2 separate regions of the Homo sapiens genome follow, and region 1 is linked to region 2. The links are contacts of gene promoters, found by promoter capture Hi-C in blood cells and fetal thymus (Javierre and others, 2016). All regions are on one chromosome and are shown on one strand. Each heading gives the region's core, a stretch centred on a gene start or on the middle of the fragment in contact. The rest is flanking DNA. Distances are from core to core; before and after follow the strand shown.

Region 1 (5,143 bases), core at 1,502-4,001, 150 kb after region 2:
GGGCTGTGGACTTTTCTGTGGGTGCACCTGCAGCGTTCGTCTGTCTGAGAGCAGACTGCTGTCCTCCGTGGGGCCAGTGCCTCTGCCCTCCTGGCACACGGCCACAGTGCCTCCCTCCGGAAGAATGGCCTGGGAGTCAAAGCTGCAAGTTTTAGTTGTCTCCTCATGTACAAGGATTTCTCCGGCAGAGGAAGACACAGTGAGAGAATCAGGTGGCACGCCGGTAATGCCTGTGTTGAAAGACCTGCTCGTGAATGAGCTCTGCCCCTATAATACTTCTGTTCTATCACAGCCGAAAAGCTCACCCGACTGCTGCCCACAGAGACTTCAGATACCTTGGCAAAAACAAGACATCCTTTCCTTTTCCCGACCGCAGCTCTTGGATGGAGGCGCAGAGGCCTAGTGCTTCTGAGTGGAGCCATGCCTGGCGCCAGCCTGGCTCTCCCGTGTCAGCTCCGCCTAAAGCGGCTCCCAGGCCTCTGTGCCTCAGCGAAAAGGGCTTCCCTGTGTATTTGCAACTGCACGGCCTGTTTCCTTGCCCTAAAATTTGTTAAAATCTTCAAGATGTGAACAAGCTTTTTTCCTCTTAAAAAAATGACATATTTAGAAGTAGGCTGTGGGTCCCTGGGATGCTGGTTCCCCCAAGTATTTTTCTCTAATAGAAATCTTTGGTTTTGTTTTTAAAAGGAATTCTCCATTCACGTACTGTTCTGAATGGTAGCCATGTTTGCTTTAAGATAAAAGAACACCCCGCCTGCAAACCTGAGTGGGGCTGGCACTCCTGGGTGGGGGAACGTTGACCCTGTGGCTTCCTGTGGCCCTGGAGAAAACTCAGGCTTGCTGTTATCACAGGGGTACCCATGAGTGACTTTTGGATTTTGGGAAATGCAAAGCATGTAGATAAGAAGTTGGTCCCTAGATATGTGTGAGTCCCAAAGGCCCACTGGGTGGGGCGCTGGTGAATTGAGCTGAAAGTAGCAGAATCTGCCTTGAGCTGACCTAGGTGGGAAGCCCCAGGGGTCAGCTCCTCTACGCTGGCCTTTGCTTGGCTTGGCGGAGGCGCGCAAGGCCCCTGACTATATCTGTTCCTCCTCTGGGCCACCCTCTAGGTTGCTTTCCACTGCAGGCCTGTCTCCTTGAGGTGACATCGTGGCTGCCTCTGCACCAGCCATCACAACTTGATACAGATAAGTCTGATGTCAGGAAAAGGGAGTTTTTTTTGTTTTGTTTTGTTTTTCTGGAGACAGGGTCTCCCTCTGTCACTAAGGCTTAAGTGCAGTGGCGCAATCGTGGCTCACTGCAGCCTTGAACTCCTGTGTTCAGGTGATCCTCCTGCCTCCGAAAGTGCTGGAATTACAGGCGTGAGCCACCATGCCTGGACAGGAAAAGGGAAATTTCTTTTTGCAACCTTTTGTCAGGGGCTGAAACCTTTCTGGAAGCTCCAAAAGACTCCTTTCTCTCTCTCATTAACTATCTCTAAGGCAGTCATTAGGACGCATCCCATGAAACCAGATGACTTCTGCATAGCCATTGCCTTCTATACCTCAGGCAGGTTCTTGTTAGAAGAAGTGCCAGGCAGAGGTTGTGTGGGCAGCCAGTCATATTTGCATATTTTGGGGTGACTGTGCAGACAGTGCTGGACCAAGGAAGTTGTCTGGGTCCTCGCTGCAGAGGGAGGAGGAAGCAGCTCACACGCTTGCTGTTGTCTGGTGGGAGGGCTGCATTTCTCCTCTCTCCCCCACTTTCTCTCTCTCTCTCTCTCTCACACACACACAGACACACACACACACACACACACACTCACACTCACTGTTGGGTTTCTTGGGCTGCTAACAGGATTAAATGAATGTCTTGGTTCCATGATGTGCATGTTACGCTAGAGAGCTAAGTTAGTTAACATCGCTCATTGGGATAGAAGGAACGTACTGAGGAACGTACTGAGGATTAGAAGTCAGAATTCTTGAATCTGCAAATCTTTTTTTTTTTTTTTTTTTTTTTTTGAGACAGAGTCTTGCTCTTGTTGCCCAGGCTGGAGTGCTCACTGTAACCTCTGCCTCCCGAGTTCAAGCGATTCTCCTGCCTCAGCCTCCTGAGAAGCTGGGATTACAGGCATGCTAATTTTTTGTATTTTTAATAGAGACAGGGTTTCACCATGTTGGCCAGGCTGGTCTCAAACTCCTGACCTCAGGTGATCCACCAGCCTCGGCCTCCCACAGTGCTGGGATTACAGGTGTGAGCCACCGTGCCCGGCCTGCAAATCTTCTATTTTGTTCAGACACTAACTCCAGCCCTATAAATAGTCATCCAATACTTCCAGTAAATGGTGCGCCTCATATTGATCTGCCTGGTTGCCTTACCGTGTTTGTTACATTGCTGTGTAACGAGTTACCCACAAACTTAGCAGCGAAAACAGCAGACATCTATTATCTCACACAGCTGCGGAGGGTCAGGAATCCAGGAGTGGCTTAGCGGGCGATTCTGGGTGTCACGTGGAGTCACATGGGGTCAATGTGTTGGCCGGGGATGCAGTCACCTGAAGCCTTGTGGGGGGAAGGAGGGGCTCCCCCAGGCCTGGGAAGGCTGCGGCTGCCCCATCACGCTCTCTCCTCCACCAGGTTCACAGGTTCACAGAAGTAAAGGCTGAGCATGTCAGGACTGAGCTGAGCGGTTCCCACCTCTCAGTCCACAGTTTCCCACAGAGCACGCAGGGGCCGCACCAGGGCTGGGACGGGGCTGCGACCAGGCTAGGGGAGCATCCTGGGCAAACCCTGCTGGGGACAGGTTCGTTGTGTCTGATGCCGTGGGAGATGCACGAGCAGTGACTTTCACTTTATCCCACTGTGGCCCCGTGACCCTGAGCGAGAATGCACTGGCCGGGCCTCCAGGGGGCGCTCCCTTAGGAACACCCCATCCCCGTCCCCGTGTGCTGTCGAGGGCCTCTAGCGGGCGCTCCCTTGATAACACCCCACCCCCGTCGCTGTTGTTGTCGGGGGCCTCCCGCGCCCCAGGAGGTTTCCCAGGGCGATGCTCTGGTCCCTGGGTCCTTTGATCTCATCTCCCTAGTTTAGCCTTTGAACTCCATTTCAGATTGAGAGGTTTCAGGCTGGAGTGACATGGAGGGACGTGCCTGACTTCTGGAGGATAAGAGGCGGCCCACCCCACAGCTCTTCCAGCGTGGGAGCTCTGAACATGGGACCCGGAGCACCACCGTTTAGCAAACCTTGCTGCAGTTTGGAGAGAGTGTCGCGGGCGCCTGGCCTGTCCGGCAGGCTGGGTGGCTGTTCTCTGTTGAGCCCACAGCCATGCCCCACATGCAGGACGTTTGCCTATCACTTGGAGGCCTTTCAGGGATCTTGCTAGCCCACGGCTGAGCACAGGGTAGACCTCACCAACTCACCCACAACCTGGCCCCTTGACACACTGGTGCTGTGAGGAGGAAGATGTGGGCACTCTTAGGTCCCTGGTCCTAGGGGTCTGTGCTGGGGTGGGGCTCGTTGACCTGCATCCTGGCTGGCCCTGTGACTCTGCCTGTTTACAGTGAGCAGCTCCTGGCCAAAAGCTGCTTATTGGATTAGCCGGTGCCCCGACGGCAGAGCCCGCAGCTGTGCGCAGGAGGACGAACCTGTGTGTATGTCCTGCTTCAGCGCGCTCCTGGGGTCCCTTGAGTTGGTCTCTGTGACTAGAAGGACAGTGCTGGCCACGCAGGTGGCACCCTGGGGGTGCCCAGCACCCACTTCCTGCTGAGCAGATGCTCTGGGTGGCAACGGCCCCTGCCAAGCCTGGGCAGCTCAGGCCAGGTCCTAATCCCTCCGCTTGAGCTCGGCTCCTCACCCTTTGGCCAGGCTGACACCTGCTCCCCGCAGGTCCTTCTCGCCGGCTTCAGGCAGCACAGGACCGAGGGCTGAAGATGCTGAGCAGCTACCCGGCCTGCCTCTTCTCAGGGATCTGTGTGGCCCTGCTGGCGGTGGCTTTGGCCTATTACTTCTACTGGTGAGTGAGGCCGGGGCCCGGGGGCCTGGGCAGTCCTGGGGGCCTTTACTGTGTGCTCCCCTCCTCTTCCAGCCCTGGACCGTTCTCTGCATGTCAACAAACCCTGCCTAGCCCTTTGCAGGGGAACTCCTGGGAGGTAGGGAAGCAGGGGATGGCAGGAACTCATTCTGATCCCTCCTGGGGTCCTTGGGCAGCTCTCCCATCCTTCTGCAAAGGGGTTTTTGTTCAGAACATTCCTGAAGGAGCTGAGCGGTTTCATACCATCTGGGCGGTGTTTGTAGATGCCTGGCATGTCCTGGGACGGACAAGTGCCTGATGTATGGGCACAGACTCCCACTGCCCCCCAAGGCAGGTGCTGTAGGATGGCTGATTTACATGGTGATCTGCACCCTGAGCAGAAAATGCGTAGTTACCATCAAAGTGGCGCTGCTCTGTCACACCCATTGCCTGATGGGCTGGTTTATGGTGATCGCAGGCGATTTCCCAGCTGCCCTTGACCAGAGTCCGTGCCGGCTCTTACTGCAGAAGCCGAGAATCAGCAGGTGTCACAGATCACGCTGGCCTAGGATTTCAGAGACTCGGTCCCAACCCCGCTGTGTCTCCGGGCTGGGATTAGATGGGGTGTTTGTGCTCCAGGCCTCCAGTGCTCGTTGGTAAAACGGGACACTGATGCCGCCTGCTGTTTCTGCAGAGGGTCAAAGGGCACAAGATGCGTGCCAGCCTCTGTCCATGGGGTGTGTGATGATGGTACCAGGTGGTGCAGGGGGCAGCTGGGGGGACCCAAAAACCCCAAGTCTGGGTGCCAACTTTATTTTCTAGAGCCGGAGAACGAGGTGATTTCCTAGGAAGAGACCACAGCTCCCCTGGAGGTTCCACGCTAGACTGTGTTTGTTTTTCTTGGTGCACACTTGGCCAGGAGCTGCTTCTCTCTGATCTGGAAGCTTTCTCTTCTATAGATCCGATTAATGCACTTCCATTGCTAACAGCGGGGAGGGTCACTGCAGGTGACACAGGCAGGAGGATGCCCAGTCTTCCCCATGACTCAGTTTATGTAAAAACGATCAATACTATTTACAAAGAGGTTTACCCAGAGCCAAAAGACAGAATCCTAAGGCTGAGGCAGGAGGATCCCTTGAGCTCAGGAGGTCAAGGC
Region 2 (4,701 bases), core at 1,207-3,706:
CCACTGTGCGCGACATACCCACTGTGCATCTGACACGCCCATTGTGCGCGACACACCCACTGTGTGCGTGCAACATACCCACTGTGTGCCTGACACTGTGTGCATGCGACATACCCACTGTGTGCGAGACATACCCACTGTGCGCCTGACATGCCCATTGTGCACCTGACATGCCCATTGCGTGCGTGCAACATACCCACTGTGTGCGTGCGACATACCCACTGTGCGCCTGACATGCCCACTGTGTGCGTGCAACATGCCCACTGTGCGTGACATACCCAGTGTGTGCGTGCGACATACCCACTGTGTGAGTGCAGGGCCTCTTCTCATTCGTGCTTGTCCCCCGGAAAGTCATGTCCGCTGGAACCTCGGAATGTGGCCTTAATTTGGTAAACGGGTCTTTCCAGACATGGTTAGTTAACATGAGGTCATGCTAAATTAAGGCAGGCCTAAGTCCACACTGACTGACGTCCTCATAAGAAGAGGAGAGGCTGGCTGGGTGCAGTGCCTCCCGCCTGTAATCCCAGCACTTTGGGGAGACCGAGGCAGCCCGATCACCTGAGGTCAGGAGTTCGAGATCAGCCTGGCCAACATGGTGAAACCCCATCTCTACTAAAAACACAAAAATTAGCCAGAAATTGCTTGAATCCTGGAGGTGGAGGTTGCAGTGAGCCAAGATCGTGCCACTGCACTCCAGCCCGGGCGACAGAGTGAAACTGTCTCAACAACAACAACAACAACAAGAACTAATTCAGATTCTAAAACCAGTTGCTAAATGTTTCCTTTTTTTTTTCTTTTTAGACAGAGTTTCAAAATCTGTCGCCCAGGCTGGAGTGCAGTGGCCGGATCTTGGCTCACTGCAACCTCCGCCTCCTGTGTTCAAGCAATTCTCTTGCCTCAGCCTCCCGAGTAGCTGGGATTACAGGTGCTCGCCACCACACCCAGCTAATTTTTGTATTTTTAGTAGAGATGGGGTTTCACCATGTTGGCCAGGATGGTCTCGAACTCCTGACCTCGGGTGATCCACCTGCTTTGGCCTCCCCAAGTGATGGTTGGGATTACAGGCATGAGCCACCACTGCCAGCCTTTTCAACTTTTTATGAAAAATTTCATACATAGAAAATGTCAGAAGATAGGTCAATGAAGACCTGTATTCCTGCCTGTAGACGCCACACTTGTATTTTTTTGAGACGGAGTCTCACTCTGTCACCCAGGCTGGGGTGCAGTGGCGCGATCTCGGCTCACTGCAAGCTCCGCCTCCGGGGTTCACGCCATTCTCCTGCCTCAGCCTCCTGAGTAGCTGGGACTACAGGCGCCCGCCACCACGCTCAGCTAATTTTTTGTGTTTTTAGTAGAGACGGGGTTTCACCGTGTTAGCCAGGATGGTCTCGATCTCCTGACCTCATGATCCGCCCGCCTCGGCCTCCCAAAGTGCTGGGATTACAGGCGTGAGCCACCGCGCCCGGCCAACGCCACAACTGTTAACAGTGTGCCATAGTTGCTTATCTGCATACACATATGTGCGTGTAATGATTTACTTTTTTGCAGAATGAATTACAGACATCATGACAGGTCACCTTTACCAAAGAGTTCTGCAGTTATTTCTAAAAATAAAGAATATTTTTCTACTTCAGGGTATGTCAAACTGTGGCCCTAGGCCAAATGCAGCCTCCCCGTTTTTTTTTTTGTTGTTGTTTTTTGAGACAGAGTCTCACTCTGTCGCCCAGGCTGGAGTGCAGCGGCGCAATCTCGACTCACTGCAACCTCCGCCTCCCGGATTCAAGCAATTCTCCTGCCTCAGCCTCCTGAGTAGCTGGGATTACAAGCGCCCGCCACTACGCCTGGCTAATTTTTGTATTTTTAGTAGAGACAGGGTTTCACCATGTTGGTCAGGCTGGTCTCAAACTCCTGACCTCGTGATCCACCCGCCTCAGCCTCCCAAAGTGCTGGAATTACAGGCGTGAGCCACCGCGCCCGGCACACCCCTGGTTTTAAAAATAAAGTTTCGAGCCGAGAGTGGTGGCGCCCGTGGTCCCAGCTCCTCGGGAGGCTGAGGCTGGGGGATCCCTGGAGCCCGCGAGGCAAAGGCTGCAGTGAGCCGAGATCGCGCCTTGCACTCCAGCGTGGGTAACAGAGCGAGACCCTGTCTCAGGAAAAAAATACAAGTGGGGTTATAAATAAAATGAGATTAAAAAACAACAGATCTTTGCCTCAGAATCCCGACCCACCGCAGCCCCAGCGAGGCGCAGGCGCAGGCGCAGGCGCGCGCTCGCTGGTTCCGCCCATGCGCACAGGCAGGGAGCGCGCGCCCCCTCTGTAGCCTTCGGCCTCCGGGGGCTGCAGTTGCGCGGCTCGGCCACTGCGCGGCGGTGGCGTGCGCCTGGGCGGTGTCGCGGGCTGTGACGTCACGCCACGCGCCGGGGCCAGGAGGAGGCGGGCGCAGGAGGCGCGTGCTCAGTGTGCTGGGTACCAGGCGACTCCGGGACAGGGGGTCTCGGCCGTCGGCGTCATGGTTTCGCGCGTGCAGCTCCCGCCTGAGATCCAGCTGGCTCAGCGCCTGGCGGGGAATGAGCAGGTGACCCGGGACCGGGCGGTGAGGAAGCTCCGGAAATACATCGTCGCCAGGACTCAGCGGGCCGCAGGTTGGCGGGGGTGTGGGCGGCTGGCGTCTCGGGGGCCGGCTGGGCTGGTGCGGGTGTGGGCGGCGGCGGCCGGAGCTGGGGGCCCTCCGAGCCCTGTGGAACCTCCACGTGGCCGGGCCGGGCAGGCGGGGTCCACTGGCCTGTTCCCGCTGTTACCGGCCCACGGCCCCCGCCGCCGCTTTCCCTCGTGGTGCGGTGACTCTGGTCCCTCTGCGAGAACGCTCCTCCCCAGCCCCGTAACCCCTTTCCTAGCTCAGGCGTCCCCTCCCTCCAGTAGACCATGTACTCCTGCTGCCCTGCTGTTTGGGCACCCAGTATTTTTCCCTCATGGCAGCATTTCCCACTGTTTGCAGTTTTCTGTTTTGCGTTAATTATTGGATTGTTTTCCGATTTCCACTCGAGAGTACCTCTCTGAGGGCCGAGAATCTACTTCTTGTTCATGGTACCAGGTGGTTCTCCGAGCGTGGTCCCCCATCAGCAGTAGCATCCCCTGGACATTTGTTAGAAATACACGTTCTATGCCGGGCGCAGTGGCCCAAGCCTGTAATCCCAGCTACTTGGCACGTCGATGTGGGAGGATCACAAAGGCCCAGGAGTCCAGCCTGGGCAACATAGCAAGACTCCATTTCCATCGCAAAAGAAAAGAAAGAAATGCAAGTTCTAGGATCCCAGCCCTACTAAATCAGGACTGGCATCTGCTTTATGAAGCTGTTCAAGTGCTTCTGCTCCCCACACTCAGCCTGAGAACCACTGCTGCAGGAACAGGTTGCCAGACACATAGGACTTCAGTGAATGTCAACTGAGTAATGTTTTAAATTAAAATTTTTTGTTATTTTTCTGAGTGAGACAGACCTCACTGTCATCCGTGGTGGAGGAGTGCATTGGCACGATTACAGCTCACTGCAGCCTCTACCTCCCAGGCTCAAGTGAGCCTCCCATCTCAGCCTCCCCAATAGCTGGGACTACTGGCACCGTGCGGCCAGGCCAGCTAAGTTTTGTATTTTTTGTACAAATTGGGGTCTTCCTATGTTGCCCAGACTGGTCTTGAACTCCTGGCCTCAAGTGATCCTGCCTCAGCACTCAATTCCAAAGTGCTGGGAGTACAGGCGTGAGCCACCGCACCTGGCCTCAGTAATTTCTGTTTCTCTCGTAGTCTGAATGCCTGAGTTCACTTTCTTCTTTTAGTATTTGAGATATATTACAGGAGAGTGCAGAAGCCCTCAGTATAATGCTGGATGAATTATCACCAACAGATTAACCTTGTGGCCACTGTCCAGCTTAGGAAACCGTCAAGGTTCGCAATTTTGAATTTCCAAAATGGAGTATGGTGCCTGATACCTTGTAGATCTCAGTCGGTTTTACTGTGTGCGTGAAGTAGCAGTTACCTGGAGTAGCCGCATAGCCACAGGCGCGGCAGGTTCTGGGTTAGAAGGATTGTTTGAAGGGGAGGGCCAGATTCTGCCCCCCAGTTGCCTTTACCGTAAGTGGGACTTTGGTCTCATTCAGGCAGTCACGTTTCTGTGGCTTCCTTTCTGGCACTCGAAGGTGTGGGATTCATTTGGTCCAACCGTTGCTGTTTTGATGCAGGTGGTTTTACGCACGACGAGCTGCTGAAGGTGTGGAAAGGACTGTTTTATTGCATGTGGATGCAGGACAAGCCACTCCTCCAGGTGAGTGGGGGGAGCAGCAGAGCAGGTACAGAAGCAGCGGGGGAGGATGGATGGGCATCTGGTCAACCCAGTTTTTCTTTTTTTTTTAAGTCGGAGTTTCGCTCTTGTTGCCCAGGCTGGAGTGCAGTGGCTCAATCTCGGCTTACTGCAACCTCAGCCTTCTGGTTTCAAGCAATTTTCCTGCCTCAGCCTCCCAAGTAGCTGGGAGTACAGGTACCTGCCACCATGCCTGGCTAATTTTTTGTATTTTTAGTAGAGACAGAGTTTCATCATGTTGGTCAGGCTGGTCTCGAACTCCTGAGCTCAAGTGATCCTCCCATCTCGGCCTCCCAAAGTGCTGGGATTACAGGCATGAGCCACCGCGCCCGGCCTGGTCAACCCAGTTTTAA

The links. Contacts are between HindIII fragments. The CHiCAGO score rates a contact against its expected background, and 5 or more counts as called.
Region 1: a fragment that was not itself captured here is called in contact with the fragment with the promoter of RRP1 in region 2 in 10 of 17 cell types (erythroblasts, megakaryocytes, endothelial precursors and 7 more); the score reaches 13.9 in erythroblasts.

The regions. Positions count from the first base shown.
Region 1 is chr21:43,936,342-43,941,484 of GRCh38, forward strand. All of the region lies in intron 2 of AGPAT3 (1-acylglycerol-3-phosphate O-acyltransferase 3), which reads left to right. Among named protein-coding and RNA genes, the nearest start is that of TRAPPC10, 73 kb to the right of the region's middle. RefSeq lists enhancers at 1,754-1,803, 2,082-2,982, 2,340-2,739, 2,983-3,881 and a silencer at 4,421-4,592. The HindIII fragment of the contact is 4,356 bases long and covers 574-4,929 here.
Region 2 is chr21:43,787,121-43,791,821 of GRCh38, forward strand. It overlaps RRP1 (ribosomal RNA processing 1), which reads left to right and starts at 2,457. Exons shown (of 13, transcript NM_003683.6): 1 at 2,457-2,642; 2 at 4,230-4,312. The coding sequence starts at 2,510. RefSeq lists enhancers at 1-362, 2,518-2,627 and silencers at 2,258-2,487, 2,698-2,867. The HindIII fragment of the contact is 31,682 bases long and covers 1-4,701 here.